Regions from separate parts of the Homo sapiens genome. Here regions 1 and 3 are each linked to region 2. Evidence: promoter capture Hi-C in 16 types of primary human blood cells and fetal thymus (Javierre and others, 2016). All regions are on one chromosome and are shown on one strand. The core of a region is centred on a gene start or on the middle of the fragment in contact, and the rest is flanking DNA. Distances in the headings are between cores, read along the strand shown. Region 1 overlaps LOC105369519 (a long non-coding RNA gene). Region 2 holds the start of SLC37A4 (solute carrier family 37 member 4). Region 3 holds the start of MCAM (melanoma cell adhesion molecule).

Evidence for each region. Contacts are between HindIII fragments. The CHiCAGO score rates a contact against its expected background, and 5 or more counts as called.
Region 1: a contact is called between a fragment that was not itself captured here and the fragment with the promoter of SLC37A4 in region 2, in 1 of 17 cell types (M1 macrophages). The highest score is 5.7, in M1 macrophages.
Region 3: the fragment with the promoter of MCAM here is called in contact with the fragment with the promoter of SLC37A4 in region 2 in 1 of 17 cell types (neutrophils); the score reaches 7.0 in neutrophils.

What each region holds. Positions count from the first base shown.
Region 1 is chr11:118,701,949-118,705,096 of GRCh38, forward strand. It overlaps LOC105369519 (a long non-coding RNA gene), which reads left to right. Exons shown (of 4, transcript XR_007062909.1): 3 at 2,660-2,890. It also overlaps the pseudogene RNU6-376P. Among named protein-coding and RNA genes, the nearest start is that of TREH, 24 kb to the left of the region's middle. RefSeq lists an enhancer at 2,766-3,148. The HindIII fragment of the contact is 1,242 bases long and covers 630-1,871 here.
Region 2 is chr11:119,029,627-119,033,155 of GRCh38, forward strand. SLC37A4 (solute carrier family 37 member 4) reads right to left here and starts at 1,251. Exons shown (of 10, transcript NM_001467.6): 1 at 1,223-1,251. RefSeq lists a silencer at 706-865. The HindIII fragment of the contact is 18,338 bases long and covers 1-3,529 here.
Region 3 is chr11:119,315,262-119,318,466 of GRCh38, forward strand. MCAM (melanoma cell adhesion molecule) reads right to left here and starts at 1,869. Exons shown (of 16, transcript NM_006500.3): 1 at 1,774-1,869; 2 at 1-2. The coding sequence starts at 1,840. RefSeq lists an enhancer at 1-555 and a silencer at 2,148-2,207. The HindIII fragment of the contact is 17,882 bases long and covers 1-3,205 here.

The sequences.
Region 1 (3,148 bases), core at 1-2,500, 330 kb before region 2:
TTTGTCTTCAGTGTTATTCGGTTTCTCTAAAATGTATTTAACATAGTCTTATTTATTCTGCTCCAGAATTGTTGTGCTGCTATACCTCCGCCTTCTTTTCCTCTTTTCTTTCTTTTTTAATTTTTATTTTTGTAGAGGCAGTGTCTCACTTTGTTGCCCAGGGCGGTCTTGAACTCCTGGGCTCAAGAGCTCCTCCTGCCCAAAGTGTTGAGATTATAGGGATAAGCCACCACTCCTGGCCCCCTCCTTTTTTTCCTGGAAATTTTTTTGGTGCTTATGATGTGCAGTAATAAAAATACGATTTTAAGTGTTGGGGATTAAATAGTGAACAAAAAAGAGAAAGTCACTATCCTCATGATAGTGATATTTTATTTTATTTTATTTACATTCACAGTGCTTGGTTCACAGCACATATGCTAAAACTGGAACAATACAGAGAAGATTAGCACGGCCCCAGCACAAAGATGATGTGCAAATTCATGAAGTGTTCCATATTAAAAAAATAAAATAAAAATAGCAATACATTTACATTTTATTTTATAGCGACAGGGTCTCACTATGTTTCCCAGGCTGGTTTTGAACTCCTGACTTCAAGCGATCCTCCCGCATGAGCCACCATGCCTGGCCTAAGCTTACATTTTAGTTAGAGAAAGAGCCTGGGAATGAAGCTAGCATGGAGAAGAGCAGAGCTGAGATTTAAAGGGAGCAGATCCTGAAGCCTGGTTGAAAGCTGCATCGTTTCCCACCTGAATTCAACCACATTCATTTTCAGTAACACGAGCAGTAACTGCTTCTTGTTGTTTAAGCCAATTTAAATATATTTCTATGTCAATTACAAATGAAAGGGTATTAACTGTTAGGTGCCCAGCCTCAGCCTAATCTAGATGTTCTTTCTCTGCAACTTTGTATCTTCACTTAATTAGTTTACTTGAAAATTAATTAAATTAGGCCTGGTGCAGTGGCTCATGCTTGTAATCCCAGCACTTTGGGAGGCCGCGGCGGGCGGATCATGAGGTCAGGAGATCCAGACCATCCTGGCTAACATGGTGAAAACACGTCTCTACTAAAAATACAAAAAATTAGCCCGGTGTGGTGGCATGCGCCTGTAGTCCCAGCTACTGGAGAGGCTGAGGCAGGAGAAGCACTTGAGCCCAGGAGGCAGAGGTTGTGGTGAGCCGAGATCTCGCCACTGCACTCCAGCCTGGCGACAGAGCAATACTCCATCTCAAAAAATAAATAAATAAAATAAATAAATAAAAAAAAACACTGACACAGTGGGGATGAAGTTTCAATGTAAATTGCAGAGAGGACAACATTCAAACCATGGTACCTAGTCATAGTATTTTACTCTTTTCTTATGCTTTTAATTCCTGAAGTATCTAGACTTTCTAATCCTATTTTATAATACCTTTGTAGTCCTTATATAACATCTGTGTTTTGGTATTTGTTTCAGGTTTTTTCCTAAGTATGTGTCAAGATCCCATTTTCCAAGTCAAAAATGGGATTTTGCTACACATTATTTCATAACCTGCTCTTTGTTTTTCACATGATAAGGAACTTAAAACAACACACATCTTTTTCTGAGGGCAGAAATTTGGGCCCAGCTCACCTAGGTTCTCCGCTTCAGAGCTTTACCAGGCTGCTGTCCGGGTGCTGGCTGGGGCTATGGTCTCATCTGAGGCTCAGCTGGTCTCATCTAAGGCTTAATATTGGCCCCCAAGCTCCCTCAGACTGTTGGCAGAATTCTTCTCCTTATGGTTGTAAGACTAGAACTGGGGTTCATGTTTTCTTGTTGGCTGTCAGCCAGGGATGGCCCTTAGCAACTAGAGACTACAGTAGTTCCTTGTTGAGTGGCCCTGTCACCACAGAGAAGCTTACTTCTTCAAAGCCAGTAATAGACGGAGAGTCTCTGACCCTCTGAGAGGGCCCAGACACTCTTTCAAAGACTTCCACCTGATTTAGTCAGGCCCACCCATGAAAATGCCCCCTTGACTTCAAAATCAACTGACTTAGGACCCTAATTATGTCTGCAAAACCCCCTCACCTTTTTCACAGTCTATTAGCTGGAAGTAAGTTGCAGGTCCTACCGGCGCTCCAGGGGAGGAGGTTACACAGGGTGTGAACACCAGGGAGTGGGACCACAGGGCCCATCCCTGGGTCTATTCATACCATGTTTACCTTTCCATGTCAGTATCTTTTCTTTTCTTGGTTTTTTTTTTTTTTTTTTTTTTTCAGATGGAGTCTCACTTTGCTGGCCCAGGCTGGAGTGCCGTGGCCCCATCCTGGCTCACTGCAACCTCTGCCTCCCAGGTTCAAGTGATTCTCCTGCCTCAGCCTCCTGAGTAGCTGGGACTACAGGCATGTACCACCACACCTGGCTAATTTTTGTATTTTTAATAGAGATGGGGTTTCGCCACGTTGGCCAGGCTGGTCTTGAACTCCTGACCTGCAGGTGATACTGCCCGCCTAGGCCTCCCAAAGTGCTGGGATTTACAGGCACGAGCCACCGTGCACGGCTGTTATTATGTTTTCTACCACCTTCTAATGTTAATGGCCTCACAGCATTCTACTATGTGGATGTGTCAACATTTATTTAATTATTTATCACTAAGCACTGAATAAACATAAACATTTTAGTTTATTCCTTTTTTTCTTACAGACAGCGCTGGGGAGAATGAACGCCTGAGTACTCATGTCTTTATGCACTGTAGTATTATTTCCTTACAACAGACTCCTGAACCTGGAACGGCAGTGTCAAAGGGTTCACAAAATGTTAGACTTCTGAAGCAAATCAGATGGCACCTTTTTTGAATAATGAAGAATCTTTACCCCTGGCATGAGGAGCTGAGGACAACTCCCACTCCACGATGTGAAGCCACAGAGTTTCGAGGTAGTGGTTAATGGTGGTTGTGATTTTTTTGTTTTTGTTTTTGAGACAGAGTCTCTGTCACCCAGGCTGGGAGTGCAGTGGCACAATCTTGGCTCACCACAACCTCTGCCTCCCAGGTTCAAGCGATTCTCCTGCCTCAGCCTCCTGAGTAGCTGGGACAGGTGCCCGCCACCATGCCTGGCTAATTTTTGTATCTTTAGTAGAGACGAGGTTTCACCATGTTTGCCAGGCTGGTCTCGAACTCCTGACCTCAGGTGA
Region 2 (3,529 bases), core at 1-2,500:
CGGAAGGAGGCATGCCTGTGAGCCAGGCCAGCACCCTGTGTCCCCAGGATTTCTGCCTTTACCTCCTCTATCATGTCTGCTTGCCTGTGAAACCAGCTTTGATTAAAGGTTCAACCTAATTACTTTTGTCTGCCTGAGCCCAGGGGAGGCAGGGGTGGGATGAGCAGAGATGCCCTCTCTAGCCCTGCTCCCTCAGTCACAGAACCTTCTCATTCATTCACGGAAGGTTTATTAACTTACTAGTTGACAGGCACTGCACTTGGCACTATTAGTTTCTACACCCACTCACCACCACCGCACCAAAACACAAAGTCAGACACATACCCCGGCTACCCCACTTCTAAGCCTTCTAGAGAGGGCCTCAATCCGTGGAACTCTCAATACTTAGCACATAATAGATTTAATTGTTTCCTACAGTTGCCCCTTGTAATTCTGTGCAAGGGGGACCTCCCCAGTTCAGGTCCCACGGTGTCACACAGAAAGCCCCGCTAAGGGCTGAGGTCCTGATGGGGCCCCACAGAGCTACCTCTGGGTCCCCATTACCCTGCGACGTCAGTCTGGGCTTCCTTCGGGCTAGCTGGGGGCTGCAGGGTCTGGTTTCCAACCTGTGGGACGTTGGCAGGGGCCGCAAGCAGAGGGACTGGGCAGCTCGTGGGCGGGAAGGTGCCCCGGCGGGCTTCGGGCTGCAGGGCACAACCGTCCCGCCCAGGGCCCCGGCAACATGCCCCGGCTTTTCCGCTCAATTGGGAAAGCAACTGGAGCAGAAGGCGTAGGCGCACGCGGAGCGGGCGACCGCACGTATTCTCCCGGAGGCCCCGCGCTTCTGGCACCCAGAGGCTCAGCCTGGTAGGGGAGGGCCAGGCGGCGGGCGGGAGAGGAGGAGAGGCGGCGGGCGGCGAAGAGGCGGCGGGCTCGTGGCACCTGCCCAGCCCCGTGGGTCCTCACGCTACCCAGGACACGCTACTGTGCGGCTGGGAACCACGGGGGCCGGGGGTGCAGGAGCTGGAGAGGTGCGGAGACCACAGGACTGGCGCGATAGAAAGGGGTCTCGTGCTGGTGGTCAGGGACAGCGCCTCGGTGGCCCCAAGACCCATGAATTGTCTCTGGAACTGCAGGAACAGCTCCGGGTCGTATCGGAAGTTGGGGTTCGCCAACAATGGCTCCCCAAGACCTGAGATCCCCGCCCTCAGGTGACTCCCCTCCCCCGCATACCGCCTCCTACCTGAACAGAGGCGGGAGCCCGAATAGGACGGGGCGGGGCTAGCGAAGGCTGCGCAAGCGCGGCCGGCGGGGGCGTGGTCTTCGCCTGCTGCTTCGCTTGCCGGCCAGTGGAGTTCCCCGCCCCACATGCCGGGGACGTCGACTTACTCCCTCCCGCTGGTCACGCTGCTCCTTGGACGAACGAGCATAGCGCCCCTTAGGGGCTGGGCACGGCATGTCCAATTCTTAAGTGGTTGCATTCAACAAACCAGTTTTTAGTGAGTGCCCTCCTCTACAAAACACACCGAACACTAAGGTGATAATCATTGTTCCCAAGTTGCTCACAGTCTGGGAAAGGTGTTGTAGGAACACACAGTATTTTCTTTTTTTCTTTTTTTTTTTTTTTGAAACAGTCTCGCTCAGTCGCCCAGGCTGGAGTGCAGTGGCGCGATTTCGGCTCACTGCAAGCTCCTCCTCCCGGGTTCACACCATTCTCCTGCCTCAGCCTCCCGAGTAGCTGGGACTACGGGCGCCCACCACCACGCCCGGGTAATTTTTTGTATTTTTAGTAGAGACGGGGTTTCACCGTGTTTGCCAGGATGGTCTCGATCTCCTGACCTCGTGATCCGCTCACCTCGGCCTCCCAAAGTGCTGGGATTACAGGCGTGAGCCACCGCGCCCAGCCCACAATTTGGAATTTTAACTTGTGGTTAGATTGTTGGGGACAGAGACGGGGCCTGGAGTAAATATCAAATTCTAGTCCTAGACCCACAGCATTCTAACTGTATGACCTTGGTTAATCTCTATGAGCTCCCGTTTCCTACCAGCCTGGTAGATCATTGTGAAGACTCAACAGATGATTTAGATAAGAGCTCAGAAATTCTATAAGAGTTCTCAACAACAATGGTTTTCACTGATCCCAGTTAAGAGTTGTGAGGAGTAACAGTAGTGATGCTATTTTACAACAATGATGACTGTGTTCTCAGAAACAGAGCAAATGTTAACCCTGCCCATAGCTTCAACAGAAGGTAACATAGCCTAACAAAGTCCCCAACAGTCCCAATCAGCCAGCACTTCCCGACCTCTCCCCAATAGAAACGATATTATAAAAGCCTCAGCTTGTAAGCGATCAGGGTCTCAGCCAGACTCCTGACTGGAACTCCTTGCAGGCTTATTCCTGTGAATAAACCTGTTTGGCCGTTGAGTTGCCTCCTGTCTCTCGCTCTCTTCCCTTATATCTTCCTAACAAGAGTGGCTGAAGGAATTGTAAGTGTTCCAAAATTGAGAGCAAAGATCTTTTACTCCAGAGAAGATGGTCAGGGAAGGGAGGAGGAGGAGATGAGATAAAATAGGATGACAGGCCGGACGCGATGGCTCATGCTTGTAATCCCAGCACATTGGGAGGCCAAGGCGGGCAGATCACTTGAAGTCAGGAGTTCGAGACCAGCCTGGCCAACATGGTGAAACCCTGTCTCTACTAAAAATACCAAAATTAGCCAGGCTTGGTGGCACACGCCTGTAATCCCAGTTACTGGGGAGGCTGAGGCAGGAGAATTTCTTGGACCTGGGAAGCAGAGGTTGCAGTGAGCCGAGATCGTGCCACTGCACTCCAGCCTGGGTGACAGAGCGAGAGCCTGTCTCAAAAAAAAAAAAAAAAAAATAGGATGACGATGTCACTGAACTTCGTTAATTCAAAATCGGGGAGGAGCCTAGTTTGTACCAGGCACTGTGCTTTCAGCCAGGTAGATCCAAGGACCAGGAAACAGTTCCTCCGAAACCAAACCAGAGCAGATTCTTACTTTACCTAATAGAGGAGTAGGAAGCCATCAGGTTTTTCTCCGCTTTTATTTTTAAGATTTAACATACACATAATAAAATACAAAAAGTGCAGGAATCTTACATGTACAACTCAGTGATTTTTTACACATGTTAATACCCGTGTAACCACCACCTAAATTAACAGCCCTATCGTTTTGTTTTGGAAGTGGAGTGATCTCAGCTCACTGCAACCTCCTTCTCTGGGGTTCAAGCGATTCTCCTGCCTCAGCCTCCCGAGTAGCTGGGATTACAGGCATGCCCCACCATGCCCAGCTAATTTTGTAATTTTAGTAGGGGTAGGGTTTCTCCATGTTGGTCAGGCTGGTCTCAAACTCCTGACTTCAGGTGATCTGCCCCCCTTGGCCTCCCAAAGTGCTGGGATTACAGGCATGAACAACTGCACCCAGCCAACCCGGTTAATTTTTCTATTTTTTGTAGAGACAAGAGTTTCACCATATTGGCCAGGCTGGCCTCGAAATCCTGAGCTCAAGGGATCCACCTGCCTTGGTCT
Region 3 (3,205 bases), core at 619-3,118, 290 kb after region 2:
ACCTGGGGGAGGGAGGCGGGGCCCCCGCAGCTGTGTCAGCTCCGGCTGCTGTCCGCCCCTCCCCTCGCAGCGCTGCTGCAGCTGTTTTTCCTGCCACTCAGAGGGTCTGCAGAGGGCCCTGTCCTCTGAACGCTCTACCCCCACCCCGACCCGCGCCCCACCTGGGCCAGCCCTCTCCCCGTCCAGGAGATCCCAGGTCCTTGGAGCCAAGCAGAGATTGAGCAGAGACTGAGCACCGAACAGCTCCAGCTGAGGCTGGTAGAGGGGCAGAAAGGGGCAACCTAGGCTCGGGGCCAAGAGGAAGGCCCCTTTCCTTCCAGGCCCCCTCCTCTCCGGGTGAGCTCAGAGTGTGGGAATGCAAAGCATGTGCCAGGCTGGGGCACACAGGCCCTTTTGTGTCACCACCGCCAGGGGAAGACACCACTGCTCTATCCTCTGCCCTCCAAAATCCCTGCCCTCACTCCCCAGCGGGCTAACTCTGGCGGAAGTTCCGGTCTCATGCTCCCTCAGCAGCACCTCCATGAACACTCCGCACACACCCGCGGACCCCACCCTAGGTAGCTGGTAAGGATGGAGAGGTCAGAGTCTCCCCCAGGGGTCAGGGCAAGGGCCAGGCAGTGGGCAGGAGTGACGTCAGTGGTGCCAGCGTGCTGCCAGCCCTGTGAGGAGGTGATGTCACTCGACACCATCTGCCTGGGCTCTGGGATGCCTGGGTTGTTACCTTGGCTCTCGGACAAGGAGGGCAGGTGGAAGGTGGGGTCTCCAACCCAGAGCCTCAGACCCCTGACTCCTCCCAGAGCTAGAAGAGCAGGGCAGGGTGGAGCTGGACCGGCTGCAACTGTGGAGCCCGATTTAGCCCTTTCCCCAGAAATAAAGTCAGCCTGGGAGGCAGTAGCCTGGAATACCCCAGGGACATGGTTGGCACTGGGCATGAGGCCAGCGAGCTGGGTATTGCCTAGCCCTCCCCTTCCCCAGCCGGACAGCGGCTGGGACGGCGGAATGGGAGCCAAGAGAAACACGCGACACCGCTGCGGGCCATACAAGGGCAGCGTGGACCCGAGAGCGCCCTGCTACCAGGCGGATCCGGAGAAACGCTCCGAGGTGCCCGGGCGCACTTCCCACCTGAATGTGGTCCCCAAAATAAGCCAGCGGGCGCTTCCAGTATGGGAATCCTCCATCCCTCATCTCTGTCCCCTATGATCCCATCACTCGGGGAGGCGCGAGGCGACCCACACCGCCCCGCAACCCCTGCCAACGCCCAGCTCGGGCGGGAGCCGCCGAACCTCCCGCTCTCGCTCACCTCCAGCCTGGCGTGATGCCCAGGCAGAAGGGGGAAGGGGTGGGTCGGCGCACCCCCTCCAGCGAAGGAAGCTGCCTTTTCCAGCAACAGGCGGGCGCGGAATTCAGGCTTTGAGGATGCGCCCCAGCTGCGCCTCCTGCCCGGCTTCAATTGCGGGCCCCCAGAGTGAGCACCTCAGGGACCACCCACCCCCCAGCACCCCGAAAGGCTGAGCTCCACCCCTTCTCGTTCCCAGAAGCAGCCTCCTCCCCGCCTTCCGAGTGCTGCTCCCGGGATACTCTAGAATCCCGGCTGCAAACTGGCTGCAAAGAAGAGTTGCTCGCGCGCAAGGCGCCCGGGGATCGGGGACCCAGGGAGGAGGCTCGTCCTCCCAGACGCAACGCCCCGACCCCGCCGCGCCGCTGGCTCTGCTCCCTGGCACGCTCCACCGCAGACCCCTAGCCGGGGCGCGGCCCCCCTGCGAGCGAACTCACCCGCGACGCGAGGACAGCAGCAGCAGGCGGCGAGCAAGAAGGCGCAGACCAGCCTGGGAAGCCCCATGCTTCCCGGCCGGAGGGCGAGAGCCAAGTGAGCAGCTCGAGGCTGCCGGGGGCTGACGTCAGGGGGGCGGGGGAGGGGGCCCGGAGCGCCCGGGCCCGCCCCGCCCCGCGCAGCCCCCAGCCCCCGCCCCGCGCGCCGCAGCCCTAGGGGGCGGGCCCCGGCGCCGCCAGCCCGGGAGCTGCGCCTAGGAGCGCTGCCGGAGGTAGGCCAGAGCCGGACTCCCAGGCTCCTGGCTTGGGAAGGCTGAGGGGGTAGTGACAGGTGTCTCGGGGTCTGACTGGCCGAGGTGGCAGCGAGGAGAAGCTGTCCCGGATGCCCGGAGTCGCCCCGGGTCGAAGCCAGCCAGGCTCACCGCTGCTCAGCCCCTGCCAGCCAATGTAGCCCCTAGGGGACCTCCTGGGGGAGGAGCAGTAGCGGACCTGGTCCTCGGTGTCCCCAAGGGGCCTCCCACTTGGGCTCCCCTCCCTTGCCACAGAGAATTCAGGCCGGCCTCTATCGCTTCCCAGAACGATTGCACCACTGCCGCTGCCGCCGGCCTGACACTGCCTCAGCCTCAGTGCTGGCAGCTTTGGGAGAAGAACCCTGCGCCAGTCCCACAGACCCAGAAGTACCTGTATGGGGAGTGCAGACGATGCCTTCTGGGCTGTCCCTTCAAACGCAAGCTCCTGCAAGTCTAGCCTTTGACCAGAGAAAGGAAGGAGGGGGCTGAATTCGCAGGCCCAAGGTGTTCACACTTGTCCAGACCTGGGCCTTGAGAATCATGTTTCTTCCCTCTTCACTCTGGAGCCTACCCTGGAACTCAGTTTCCCCTCACCTAAGAGAAAGAAACAGGGAGAAGAAAGAGTTAATGGGCGAGGGTCCCCAGCCTGACCCTGCAAACCTGTTGCTGTTCCTGATGATTGAAAGGATCCCGGCAGCGCTGATCTTCCCCCACCCCATGTCTTCCCCAGCCCTATTGATTGTGGGTCCATAGCTGAGGGAAGAATCAAATCAGACCTGCTTGGGTGGGGAGCTCTGCAGCTCCCCTTCTCCCAAAACGCCGGCTTCTCCCTGGGTCTTCTGGCCTCTTGAACTAAGGCTCTAGGGAGGGGGAGGTGCTCTTGCCTCACTCTGACCCCAGCAGCCTGGCCTCAGAAAAGGGGTCCACATCTGCTGGCGCGCCTCCACCAGGGAGTGCCAAATAGGGGCCTGGATTTGGGTAGAGGTCTGTTGCCCAGCGGGGCCACCCCTTTGCTCGCTGGGGGAGGTGGAGGGTGAGCCAGCAAACCCTGGAGATGGCCAGGTGACTTGAGAGCATGCTCCGGGGTGGCGTTTTGATGACGCAGAGATGACTGGAAAACCACACCAGGCTTGTCTTTCAGAGCC